Linked DNA regions of Homo sapiens: regions 1 and 2 are each linked to region 3. The links are contacts of gene promoters, found by promoter capture Hi-C in blood cells and fetal thymus (Javierre and others, 2016). All regions are on one chromosome and are shown on one strand. The core of a region is centred on a gene start or on the middle of the fragment in contact, and the rest is flanking DNA. Distances in the headings are between cores, read along the strand shown. Region 1 has its middle 37 kb from the start of NNAT. Region 2 has its middle 18 kb from the start of NNAT. Region 3 holds the start of GHRH (growth hormone releasing hormone).

Region 1 (4,423 bases), core at 690-3,189, 220 kb before region 3:
TTTCAGACACTGGGTTTCAAGCAGAAAATAATTATTCTGCTCCTACCTAGCTGGCTGCCTGTCGCTAGGTGCTGAAAGGTACAAGAAAATGAGAAAGACATTGCCCCAGCCATGAGGCAGATGAAACCAGTGGTAACTAGAGCTGGAGTCAGTACCCAGAGGGCAGAGAAAAGGCCTCCCAAAGAACATGGAGATCAGGTTACTTGCTAAAATGTACATAATTTACTTTTGTCCCTTTTCACCAACACTGCTAATCCCTTCACCTCTACACTTAATCCCAGAGCTCCAGGGCCCCTCTCACTGCCCTGCCCTGCTCTTCCAACTGGGCTTGTACTGCTTCCTCCCTCCCATGTCTCCTGGAAGAATCAGCTCCTTCCTGGACCTGCTGCCTGCTCCAACCCTCCTCCCTCCTTTCTCAGCCAGACCCAGTTCATTCCCCCAACACCAACAGGGGCTTCTGCCCCTTGCCCCAAAGTTGCTGTGACAAAAGTCCCCAAAGGCCAGGTCTAGGAGATGCCTGAGCCTCCACTGACCTCTGTGCATGTGGCCCACCAGTGGCCACTCTCTTTCTGGAAATGTTCCTTCATGGGCTTCTGGGACTCTCTTTCCCTGTCTTCCCCTCTTTCTCAGGCTCCCCTCCCCCTGTCCAATGCTGGTGCTGCCCAGGGCTCAGACTCCAGCCTTCCCTCTCACTGTGCACCTTTTCCCTCAACTTCATGCATCCTTGAAGCTTTGCCTCTCTCCTAGAGGCTGATTCCCAAAACTGATAGTCCACACTGGGCTCCTTTAAGCTCCAGTCCAACACACCCATCTTCCTCTCTACATCTTCTTCCAGATCCAGCCCTGATCTCTCGTCTGAGCTCCAGAACCTGATGGCCAACCATCTCAGACATCAACAACATATCCCAAATGAAATTCTTGGTTTGTTATTTTTTCACTTCATTATGCTCTTTAATTCAAATTCCTAATCTTTCTTCTGCAAATTTGTTCTTGACTGATGTCTCCTATTTTGGGAGACACTTAGCGGTCCCCTAGAATCTCTGCCTTCTTCTCTTGCAACATCTCATGGAAAGGTCAGTTGATCTTACCTCCTAACCAACTCCATCATCATGACCAATGGCTCAGTCCAAGCCGTCATCTCTTGCTTGGTCACTGCAGGTACTTGCTAACTTTCTTCCCAATAATCCAACCCCCACAGAGCAGCCAGAGTAGCCTTTTTTTGTTTTGTTTTGTTTTGTTTTGTTTTGTTTTTGAGACGGAGTCTTGCTCTGTCGCCCAGGCTGGCATGCAGTACTGCGATCTTGGCTCACTGAAACTTCTGCCTCCCAGGTTCAAGCGATTCTCCTGCCTCAGCCTCCTGAGTAGCTGGAATTACGGGCGTGTGCCACCACACCCAGCTAATTTTTGTATTTTTAGTAGAGATGGGGTTTGACCGTGTTGGTCAGACTGGTCTCGAACTCCTGACCTCAGGTGATCCGGCCGCCTCAGCCTCCCAAAGTGCTGGGATTACAGGCATGAGCCACCGCACCCGACCCATAAGCAAATTCTTCTAGTCCTCCAGTGCACCAAGCTCATTCCTCTCTTAGAGCTTTGGCTCCCATTGCTCCTCATACCTGGAAACCACTTTCCCACCACCCTCTTCTCAGACTTTTGGGCTCAGCTTAAATGTTTCCCAAGAGAGACCCTCCCCAACCACCCATCTAAAGTGGGGCTCCTACCCCATGCTCTCCCTCACATTCTGTTTGCTTCCTCCACAGCCTTTGCAATCACTTCTTTGGCAACTGCCTTTTCCTCTGTTTTAGAGGACTCTCCCCTAATAGACTGTAAGCTCCTTGAAGGCTGTTTCTTCAGAGACAATTTCTACCCTGGCTGCTCTTTTATCCCTGGCACCTAGCACACATTTGTTGAGTGAAGAATAAGGCTGTATTGACATTCTCTATCTCACGTGGTCTTGACAACCCCATTTCACAGAAAAGGAAGCTGAGATGTCCCAAGACAAAGTAGCGTGGGGAGGGCCCAACACAGTGCATGACTGGCAGGGATGTGGCTCAAAGCCATATCTCCTGACCGTGCCTCCAAGATTTCAGGATTGAGTGCACCACTGGCCTGCCCCTATGGAGCACAACAATACCATGTGATCTCCAGGGAGAGGAGGTAGCTAGAAAAACATGTATTGTGTAAAAAAGTCATGCTATGGGAAATTCAAGGTTAGATTACCAAAAGGGAAATTGGGTGTGGGAGTTAGATGCTTGGGGAAGTGATCTGATATGAAACAGAGATTTCAAGGGTTCTAACCCTAACAGACATTGCAGAATAAAACAAAACAAAATAACCATTATTTTGTAACAGAAAGAAAGACATCTCAATGAAACAGAATAGAAAGCCCAGATGCAGATCCCTAGAATGTCTAATTCTATGACTTATGAGAGCAGAGGCACTGCAAATGAATGGGGGCAGGCAGGGGGAATGAAGTGATTTGTCACTTAGTGAGGCTGGAAAATTATTTTATCTATTTCAGAAACGAAAAGCAATTATTTATCTCTCTTTATACCAACCACCAACATCAATGTCCTGTGATTTATTTAAATTTTTTTCAATTTTTTTTTTGTCTTCTTTACTTTTTAATTGATGTCATCTTTTCAGTAAGTGTCAGGTGATTTTTTTTTTTTTTTTTTTTTTAGACAGAGCTTCACTCTTGTTGCCCAGGCTGGAGTGCAATGGCATGATCTTGGCTCACTGTAACCCCTGCCTCCTGGGTTCAAGTGGTTCTCCTGCCTCAGCCTCCCAAGTAGCTGGGATTACAAGCACCCGCCACCATACCCGGCTAATTTTTTTGTATTTTTAGTAGAGACAGGGTTTCGCCATGTTGGCCCGGCTGGTCTTGAACTCCTGACTTCAGGTGATCCGCCTACCTCAGCCTCCCAAAGTGCTGGGATTATGGGCATGAGCCACCATGTCCGGCCATGTCAGATGATTTAAATGCAAAAAAAAAAAAAAAAAAAAGAAAGCATAGTAATAACTAGAAAAAACTGGAAATGATTCATTATCCAAACTATGGTCGAGGAAGGCCATTGTAGCATTTACAGCAATACAGAGAACTGTGCTGGAAAATATAAATATAATTGACTATAGGAAATGTAAAGCTTCTGTGTGTTGGAAATTCTCATAAATAAAACATTCACAGAGGCAGTAAGAATTTTCATAATGAAACATTGGGGTGATAAAAGGCTGTAAGAGCCCATTTATGAAAGATGAAGTTCAAAAGTCAAATTCAGTTGAAAATGTTGAACTTACTCATAATAAAATAAATGTAAATTTGAATGCAGGGATACCACTTTTGGCCCATCGAATGAGTACTTTACAAAGCAAGAGCTCACAGAGCTCATTCAGCCCCGGTGGCATGGGCCCTCTCTTGCACAGCTGGCAGGACTGTGAAGTGGCAAAATCTTTCTACAAGGCAATTTGTTTAAGATGTGTGAAGAGCCTCAAAAAGGTTCGTACTGTTTGACTCAGTAATTCCATTTGCAGGAAGCTCATCCCAAGAAGTGCTCTAAAGCAATGCCCAAAGATTTCTGCAGAAAGATGTGCACTGTGGCTTTAGGTGTCATAGCAAAAAAGAAAAAAGGAAGTTATCAAAATCTTCAGCTCCAGGAGAACAGTTAACCAAATTATGTTCCATTCATTAACTGGATTATTAGGCAGCCATTAAACATAATAATTACAAAGGAAGTTGACTAATATGGGGAGATGTTTAGCATATAATCAATGGAAAAGGATGGTGCAAAATTACATACAATGAAAGCATCTATTGTAAATAAATGCATTAAAAAGGCTAAGAAGAGATGTGCTTTTCCGGCGCATTTTTACAGAACTTGACAATGGATGTTGGGATTCTTGTCAAGATGTTTTAGTTCTTCATGACTTACTTCTCTCCAAATTTTCTGCCATATTTGGATATCGCTGTTTTTATGATAATATATTTCATTTTTCCCTTATTTATTTTGCTTAGACTGTTAGAGAAATATGATAATATATTTCAAAAGTGCAGAAGAGAACAAGAATAACATAATGAATACAATATACTCACCATCTAACCAATATAATGAATACAATATACTCATCCATCCATGTATTTCTTTTTACAATAGAAAAAGAAGAAAAAAATAAGAGCTAGGTCTTAAGGAAACGGTACCTGCATCAGGCAATTTTTGAAGGGGTGAGGGCTTGGAGGGGTTGGGCAGGAAAGGAAAGAAAATGGTTCTGCATGAGGAGGCTGCCTGGGTGGGCCTTCTTCAAAAAACCTCAGAGCTAAAGAACAGGGAGGGAGCTTCAGGCTCCTGGTGACCAATGTCCATCATTTGAAATGCCCTTTCTAGTATATGGCAAATTCCCTCTGGACACAGGTCAAATCCTGAGCTCCTCA
Region 2 (4,426 bases), core at 1,341-3,840, 240 kb before region 3:
CTCCCAGATATCCATTAGAAGAAGTAGCCAGTTCAGAGGCAGGAGACTTCCAGGTAAGAGAGGGGAAGGCCTGAAGTAGACCAGTGGGGATGGAGAGAGATCAGAACTTGTGGTAGATAAAAACCAGAAATAATTAGTGAGTACTTATCTGTGAGAGTGAGAGAGAAGGTCAAGCCAAAGGTAATTCCCATGTGTCTTGGTTTTGTTTGTTTGTTTGTTCGTTCATAGAGACAGGGTCTCACCATGTTGCCCAGGCTGATCTCCATCTCCAGGGCTCAAGCAATCTTCCCACTTTGACCTCCCAAAGTGCTGCAATTACAGGCATGAGCCACCATGCCCAGTCCCGTGTATCTTGAGTGGAGTCCTGGGTGGATGGTGGGGAGGCCCCTGGGGTGGGGAACACAGCATGGAGAGCCAGTTTGAGGGACAGGATAGTGGACTCAGACACAGCCAAGTGGGGCCCAGCAGACACTTAGATCCTGGTGTCCAGGGCTCAGGAAGAGATTTAGCTGGAAGCACTAGCCCAGGGCTGTCACCACTCAGAGTAATGGGGACCCTAAGCATAAGTGAGATTACCAGGGAGAGTGTGTAGAGAAAAAATGGGAGAGGGCTCAGGTCAGAATCATGAGTCATAGTGACATTTGAGGAGCCAGGTGTGGGCAGGCAAAAAAGGAGAAATAAAAGGAAGGGCCTGAGAGATGCGACAAACAACCAGGAGAGGGGGTTGCCATGACAACCAAGTTAGGGAAGAGTTTCAAGGAGAAAGTAATCAACACTGTCAAATGCAGCAGAGAATTCCAATAAGATAGAGAATTTTTCCTTTGGATTTCATAATTAGTAAGTTTTGATGGCCTTAATAAGAGCATGTTGAGGGAGTGATGGCCTAGGCTGGAATAATGGTGAGATGTGAGAGGACATGGATCTGTCACTAGGAGTCCTCTAAGGAGTCCAGAAGGGAGATTTGGAGATGTGAAGGGTAGGGGCTGGGAGGCTGAGGCTAGGAAAGATGAGCAGGTGTATAGGCTCAGCTCCCAAAGTGTTAAGCATCCATTGTTTAATACGAAAGTTGATACATTCCACATAATTCTCTTTTAGCACCTAATTGTGTGCCCAGCCCAGCAGTGTGCCTAGCACTGTGGATACTTGGGTGAATGAATTAAAATAGTCAGAATCCCTGTTCTCATGGTGGTAGGGGAGAAAGACATAGTCAGATAATCACATATGTAAATGTACAATTTCCAACACTGATAGGCACTCTGAAGGAATGGTACTGAGTACTGAAGGGTGTGCCACCAGGGGACCTGCCCTCATCTGACTCTGGGAGGCTTCCCTGAGGAGGTGATCCTCCAAACCAAGATAGAAAGAAGAGAACAAAGTTGACCACAAAGCAAATTGGAAAGCATTCTGAGCAAAGGGCCTGACTAGAGAGGAAGGAGAGGTGAGACCAGAGAGACAAGCAGTTCTGGCTATACAGAGCATTGGAGACCAGGGCTGAGCTCCTGCCAACATCCTGAGAGCGAGGGAAGCAGGGGATGTGACCTGCCCTGGTATGTTGCTGTAATCTGCCTGGGACTCTGGCTGTTCTGTGGAGAAATCATTAGAGCAGCATGGGTAGACAGGGAGGCTAGTTCGGAAGCTTTGTTGTAGTGGACAGGATTTGGACATGATCTGCATATTCTGGTTAGTCTTGGTGCTGGATGGAATGAAGAGGGGCTGGAAGAGGGCAGCGTTCAGGATGACCCCTGAGCTTCTGGTTTGCCTTACTGGTGAGATGGCAATGCCATTTTCAGAGCTGGGGAGCCCTGGAAAGGGGCCAGGTCTGTAAGGTAGACCCCAAGTCCAGTGGTAAAAGCTGAGACATCCCAATGCAGATGGAGAAGAAACAGCTGAAGGCACAGCTCCAGAGCACAAGGTGAGAAATTATGGAGACCAGTCCAGGGCTCCAGGGGGCTCCCAAATGGAAATATGGATCCAGATGTTGACAGGCTTCTGGGGCATTTTTAGGCGAGGGGATGGCTGAGGACAAAAAAATCAAGCCCAAGGAGCACCAACATTTGGAGATTAGAAAAGAGAAGAAGAATCCTCTGAGAGCACTGAAAAGAAAGAGCCGGGAGGTGTCTCAGCAGAAAGACAGGGTGGTCAGCAGTGGGTGTGTGCAGAGAGGTCAGGAGGACCAGGGCAATCCCTGAACTACTCCAGTGTGCACCTGCACAACCTCCATGGTGCCTCTGGAATTGGGTAGCATGGTGGCCCTGCTGATGAGCACCCCAAGGGGCCATTGGGGGACCTCTGAGAATCTCTGCCAGAGCAGTTTGGGTGGGAGTCGATTAAGGAAAGAAGCAGCAAGATCCAGGACTTTTAATCTTAAAAGAGAGAGAAATGCTGGCAGATGAACATTCTGAGGATAAGGAGCCTGAGTAATTGAGCGATTAGGGATGGAGACAATTAGTGAGATGAGCTCCCAAAGGGGCTGGGATCAACTATGGAGGTGGATAAATTAGTTTGGGGCAATAATGTGTATTTGACTGAATGGGGCAAAATTAAATTATGTACCTTTTAGAGAGTAACTTGATCTCCATGTTCTTTTGGGAGCTTTTATCTGACCTGTGTACCGACTATAGTTCTAATTAGCACCAGTTTTATCCTGTCTTTTGGCTGGGATTATGTCTTATTATTTTGTGTGTTTCTCAGCACCTAGCAACAGGTAGTAAGCTCCTTGGGTGCCGAATCAGTATTTTCTGCCTTGGAATCAAATGTCAGAAGTCAACACTCAAACTTCTTTTGACCAAAAAGATTCTACGACAATTATCCAGAAGTTACAATGCAAGGAAGAAGAATTGGATGTTAAGTCTTGCGTAGCAGGGGTTATGGGGAGTGGATCAAGACAAAGTAGAGGTATCTGCTCCCCTCATCCTTGTAAGCTCCATGCCATTTATCCATGCTCACATTGATCATCTCATACGAGCTTCACATTTCCCCACAAGAAATGGAGCGTAACCCCATTACCTACTCATAGAGGAGGAACTGGAAGCCAGAGAGGGAGATGCCTTATTGACACAGAGCACAAGTGGCAGGAGCTGGCTTCAGACCTCAGTCCATCCGGTGTGGCAGTCCCTCTTCCCAGGACCAGGTGGAGCTGGAGAGAAGGAGGAAGAGGAGTCTGTGAGGTCCAGATGGAGATGCTCGGCAGGCCCTTTCCAAAGGTGGGAGGTGAGGTCGGCCTGGAACCCTACTGGATGCTTAAGTGTCCTGCCGCACTGCTGATGAAAGCAGGTCCCCACCGCAGTGTATATACATTGTGTGTTTGCATCTAAAACGTCTATAGTTGTTTGAAATGTTTAAATCTTTAACCCATCTGAGATGTGTTTTCATGTATGGTGTGACACAGAGCTCTAATTTGCTCTTTTTGCAGATATCCAGTTTGCTAAGCACCATTTATTGTTCCAACACCATCTTTTCTCTCAATTCCCTGTCTAGACTCCGGTTCTGTTGATCTATTTGTCTATTTCTGAGCCAATAGTACATATTAATGAGCAAAGCTTAATAAAGTGTCTTATGGCTTGATAAGATAAGCACTCCACCCTTCCCCCAAGGCCTTTATTCCTTTTTTTTCTTTTTGAGACGGAGTCTTGCTCTGCCGCCCAGGCTGGGGTTCAGTGGTGCAGTCTCCGCTCACTGCAACCTCCGCCTCCCAGGTTCAAGTGATTCTCCTGCCTCAGCCTCCTGAGTAGCTGGGACTACAGGCACGCGCCACCATGCCCGGCTAATTTTTGTATTTTTTGGTGCAGATAGGGTTTCACCATGTTGGCCAGGCTAGTCTCAAACTCCTGACCTCAAGTGATCCACCCATCTCGGCCTCCCAAGGTGCTGGGATTATAGGCATGAGCCACCGTGCGCAGCCCCTTATTCTTTTTTAAAATTGTCTTGGTCATATTGCACATTTACTTTTTCAGGTACATTTTATAATCAGCTTGTCAAAGTTCTGTGAACAAAATGTCTGTTGGAAGTTTGAGAAGAATTGCATTGAAGGGGAAATTAACATCTTTAGAATATAAGTTCTTCCCATCTGTGGACATGGTGTCTGTCTCTTTTTAATCAGAATTGTATTTGTTTTGTTTTGTTTTGTTTTTAATGCCTTTTAATAAAGGTTGGTTGCTTTTGTCATAAAGATTTTTCACAGTTCTTAATAGGTTTATTCCTGAAAACCTTATTAGTTTTGTTGCTTTTGTGAGTGGAAAAACTTTCCCTTTTTTCATTTTGCTTTCCAAATTTTAATCAGTTTACTAATCACTATGCTTCATTCACAGACACACACACAGCAAATGTGCTTTGTCCCTGGGCACACAAATGAAAACACAGCACACATGTAAATCAGAGCTAATTGGCTGAAAATGAATTAGAATTTTTGAATTAAATTTTAATTATA
Region 3 (4,539 bases), core at 912-3,411:
ACTATCAGCCCATTCTTAATCCTTGGGGATCTGGCCTGACCTGACCACTTCGTATCCTGGCCAGCAAGGTGACATACCACTCAAGCCTTGCTTCTATGAGAAACATCTCATATTTGCTAGATGCCAAGAACATGGCTCAGTGCAGGCTAAGAAGGAGAACCACAAAATAGTGTTGCTAAGGGGACTCTTGGAAATTACTGGCTTGTAATTGTGACCCATCGAGGTACCTCAGGGATAGGCAAGGGGGTCTCCACTTCCCCCTCTTCAACCAGAGTAGCCCCATATTAAAAACCTGTCTCTGTAGGTTTCCAAAGAAAGAGTTTTGCTACTTTTTAAAAAATGTTTGGGCTGGGTGTGGTGGCTCACACCTGTCATCCCAGTGCTTTGGGAGGCAGAAGCACGTGGATCACCTGAGGTCAGAAGTTTGAGACCAACCTGGCCAACATGGTGAAATCCCATCTCTACTAAAATACAAAACTTAGCCAGGCGTGGTGGTACGCACCTGTAATCCCAGCTACTCTGGAGGCTAAGGCAGGAGAATCATTTGAACCCGGGAGGTGGAGGTTGCAATGAGTCGAGATTATGCCACTGCACTCCAACCTGGGTGGCAAAGATAGGATCCCTCTCAAAAAAATAGTTTGAAAGTTGCTGTTCTATGTCAACTCTCAAGTTTCCAGGTAGAAACTGAGGCCCGGAGGGTAGAAGTTTTTTTTCTTTTTTTGAGACAGAGTCTCGCTCTGTCGCCCAGGCTGGAGTGCAGTGGCACGATCTCGGCTCACTGCAACCTCCACCTCCCGGGTTCAAGCAATTCTCCTGCCTCAGCCTCCTGAGTAGCTGGGATTACAGGTGCCCACTACCACACCCAGCTAATTTTTGTATTTTTAGTAGAGACGGGGTTTCACCATGTTGGTCAGGCTGGTCTCGAACCCCTGACCTCATGATCCACCCGCCTCAGCCTCCCAAAGTGCTGGGATTACAGGTGTGAGCCACTGCACCCAGCCAGGTAGAAGTAACTTCCTAAGGGTCACAGAGGTCATGATTGACAGGCTTGGGAGAGGCAGCAGGTCCCTAGACTCGAGGCTTGGAGCTCTTTCCACACCTCCACGACGGCCGCCTGGGAAACCAGAGCTTCTGCCTCCTGTGCTTTTATGTCATTCCTGAGGATTTCTTAGCTATAGGCTAGAGAAATCTGGAAACACAACAACTCTCCCAAGGTTTTCCATCTCTTCCCTCTCATTTCACACTTCTCTGAGGCAACTGCCAATGTCTGGCTGCCTTGACAGGTGACGACGGATGCCCCCAGGCTAGCTGTTGAAATCAGCCTGTGACCAAGCAGGTGTAAATCAAATAGTGCAGAATTCTGATAATTGGACGACAAGGGAGATAGGGAACAAATTCCCCACTAAGGAGAGAATAACGCTTATTCATAATGTTGTCTACCCAAAAGTGAAATAAAATTACACAGGGACAAAGCTAAATTATATGAACTTTTGAAAAGGCACATTTATCTTGGAGAATCAATAAACTCTTGGTGTTTCACTGTTATGAGTTCTCCAATTATTTTTAACACATATTTTTTCTTTTTTTAAAAAATATATATTTTGAGATAGAGTCGTGCTCTGTCACCCAGGCTGGAGTGCCATAGCGTGGTCTTGGCTCACTGCAACCTCCGCCTCCCAGGCTCAGGTGACACTCTTGCCTCAGCCACCTGAGTAGCTGGGACTATACCCATGTGCCAACATGCCCAGCTAATTTTTAATTTTTTTCTAGAGACAGGGTCTCATTATGTTGCCCAGGTTGGTCTCAAACTTCTGAGCTCAGGCAATCCACCCGCCTCAGCCTCCCAAAGTGCTAGGATGGCAGGTGTGAGCCACCGCGCCCAGCCGAGTTCTCCAATCACTATTATAGCAGTATATATTCTCTATATCCTCTTGGAATAATGTTACACCTTTGTACTATGTCCACTGTGCCAAAGATAAAAGGAGACTTTACCAGGAGTCTAAGTCTGCAAGGGGCCAAACCTCTTTCACCAACAGGGTTTGTCAGTGTGATATGATGCTAAAAACAGTCCTTTGGTTGACTTGTGGGTAATTGATTCTCTGACGCTGACAACGCTTAGGAAAATGAAGAGATAAATGATGGGAACGCCAGGCGGCTGCCAGAGCAAACACCCAGCCCAGGGCCCCTGGATTTGAGCAGTGCCTCGGAGCAGAGGGATATCTGCCGCATCAGGTGAGAGGGGTGGCCCTGGGGGGGCTAGGCTGGGTGGGGGTAAGAAAAGTTAACCTTCTCACCAACTTAGAAACACTGAGTCCAAGAGGCCCACCGCCATCCTCTTTGCCCATGGACTGGTGAGTACATTTGAGCCCCTCTCTGGATAAAATCACCCCTCAATAGGGGCTCTGGAATAGGCTTTTGATGGTGCTGTTTGGGGCTTGTCTTAACTTGGGCGCGTGGCGGACTGGCTCCAGGTGTCTGTCGCAGGTGGTGAGGTCTCAGTGCTCCTTCGAGGATGCGTGGGCAGGCTTCGGGGGCAAACGTGAGTTGGCTCGATTTTCCTGTCAGCGATGGGATTCTGCCATGGATCAGAGATGAGCCAAGTGGCTGTGCAAATCAATACTGCTCATTGATCACTCAGAACTGATTCAATGTAATTGCCGGGAAATTGATAACATTTTGCTTTCTTGCTCAATTGCAGCCACACTCTTTACTCCAGGTTTTAGACACAATTATCTGCCTTTGGAGTCCTCCGCTACCCCACGCCTGTCTCCTGATCCTTGCTTTAATGGTCCTGAAGTATTTGTGTCTTTCACCATAGACTGCCTCAAACCCCTTCTGGAAGGAGGTGGAGTGTCACTCTTTTGAATGACAGTTCAAGATGCTTCCTCATTAAAAACTTAGATTTCTTTTAACTTGGAATGCTGTCACTGAAACAGTTTATAAACCAGATCAGGAAGTCTATGCTTTGGGGTGCTCAAATTTCAAAGGGGGATATTCAAGGAAGGTTAAAGATGTTCTTTCCCTGGGTTTTCAAAAATGGCCTTGCGAATTTGGGTGCTTGAGACCTGACCTCTGTCAGCTGCAGGTGAATCTGCAGAATTCTCCTGGCATTCCTGGCATGAAAGCTGGCAAAAGGTGCCAACGGATGTAGATCAAGTGCCCGTTTATCCTGAATCCAGGCAATCTCAAGTACATCTAATCCCAGAATCAGTAAGCACTGCAGGAAGCTAACCGATGATCATAATGATAGATTATAAACTCTGGAGTGCCTTCAGTCATCAGGGTTGCCAGCAATGCTGTTGGGCTCGGCTACACTTCATTCAGTGAATTTTGACTCCTTAAGTTGTCATGTGGAATGTGTCTGTTGACAGCTATTTTATTTTATTCTTTGAGATGGGGTCTTGCTCTGACATTTAGGCTACTGTGCAGTGGCACTATCATGGATCACTGCAGCCTTAACCTCCCGGGCTCAAGCAATCCTCCCACATCAGCCTCCAGAGTAGCTGGGACTACAGGCATGCGCCACCATGCCTAGATAAGTTTTTTTTTGTTTTGTTTTGTGTGTTTTTTTTTTTGTAGAGATGGGGTCTCGCCATGTTGCTCAGGCTGGAGCTATTTTATCCTTAGTGACATAACCTCTATTCTTCTTATCTTACCCTACACTGGATAATTCTTGTTTCCCATTTTCATCCAGTGGGATCTGCAAACCCATGGATTCGGTTCTCATAGCTCAGAGGTTGCTGTGGGGTCTTGACCTATGCCTGGGGCACAGGATTTGTGGCAAATGTTGAGCCTCTTGGTTAACTTGTGCAGTTGCTGAGCCTTATCTTGAATGAGCGGGGTATTGTGTTTACTATGACTTGCCCTCCCCACCAAAGTCTGCCCTCCTATGAGGTTGTTTCAACTCCCTGAAACTACTGGGTGTGCATAGGGAGGGGCCAATCAAGCAGGTGTTCCTGTTTGTCCCTGTTCTTTCTTCCCCAGAGGCCCAACAACAAAGAGCAAGAAGCTTTCCTTTTTTTCAGACCCTTTCCCACGTGCAGGTGATGGAGGCTGAGGATCCCTGTGAATGGGGAATACTGTGAATAGAGCATTGTACCTGGGAGGCTGCTGCATGGAGCGGAAGGAAGTCTGCCGGCCTGGGAATGAGGAGGCCCACTCTGAAGTGCCCACTCCAAAACTAATTTGATGGAGGATCATGGAAAATGTCCTTGTCCTCTCTAGGCTCTTTTCCTTGGCTGTAAGAGGAGCATGGGGATGCCTGCTCCAGAGGGAGAGTGCAAGGATGGGTTGTGGAGCCTGATAGGGCACAGGGGCTGGGAATCACTTGTGCCAGCCCTTGGGAGAAGGGGCAGGCAGAGGGAGAGCTTAAGCCAAGAGAAGGGGTTTGAGCTTTATTCTGGAAGGAGTGGGGAGCCAAGGGCTTCTGAGCAGGGGAGGGAGGTGATTGGGGACCTAGATCTGCCTGAATCTTTAAAAGATCAGCAGCAAAGAAGGCAAGAAAGCCAGGCTGCAGCTGGGAGACAGAAAAGGCAGTGG

What was found. Contacts are between HindIII fragments. The CHiCAGO score rates a contact against its expected background, and 5 or more counts as called.
Region 1: a contact is called between a fragment that was not itself captured here and the fragment with the promoter of GHRH in region 3, in 1 of 17 cell types (M1 macrophages). The highest score is 5.0, in M1 macrophages.
Region 2: a contact is called between a fragment that was not itself captured here and the fragment with the promoter of GHRH in region 3, in 9 of 17 cell types (M2 macrophages, megakaryocytes, naive CD8 T cells and 6 more). The highest score is 6.4, in M2 macrophages.

Annotation. Positions count from the first base shown.
Region 1 is chr20:37,482,245-37,486,667 of GRCh38, reverse strand. No RefSeq gene overlaps it. Among named protein-coding and RNA genes, the nearest start is that of NNAT, 37 kb to the left of the region's middle. RefSeq lists an enhancer at 1-199. The HindIII fragment of the contact is 2,413 bases long and covers 733-3,145 here.
Region 2 is chr20:37,500,820-37,505,245 of GRCh38, reverse strand. No RefSeq gene overlaps it. Among named protein-coding and RNA genes, the nearest start is that of NNAT, 18 kb to the left of the region's middle. The HindIII fragment of the contact is 1,903 bases long and covers 1,639-3,541 here.
Region 3 is chr20:37,259,436-37,263,974 of GRCh38, reverse strand. It overlaps GHRH (growth hormone releasing hormone), which reads left to right and starts at 2,161. Exons shown (of 5, transcript NM_021081.6): 1 at 2,161-2,232. The HindIII fragment of the contact is 7,318 bases long and covers 1-4,011 here.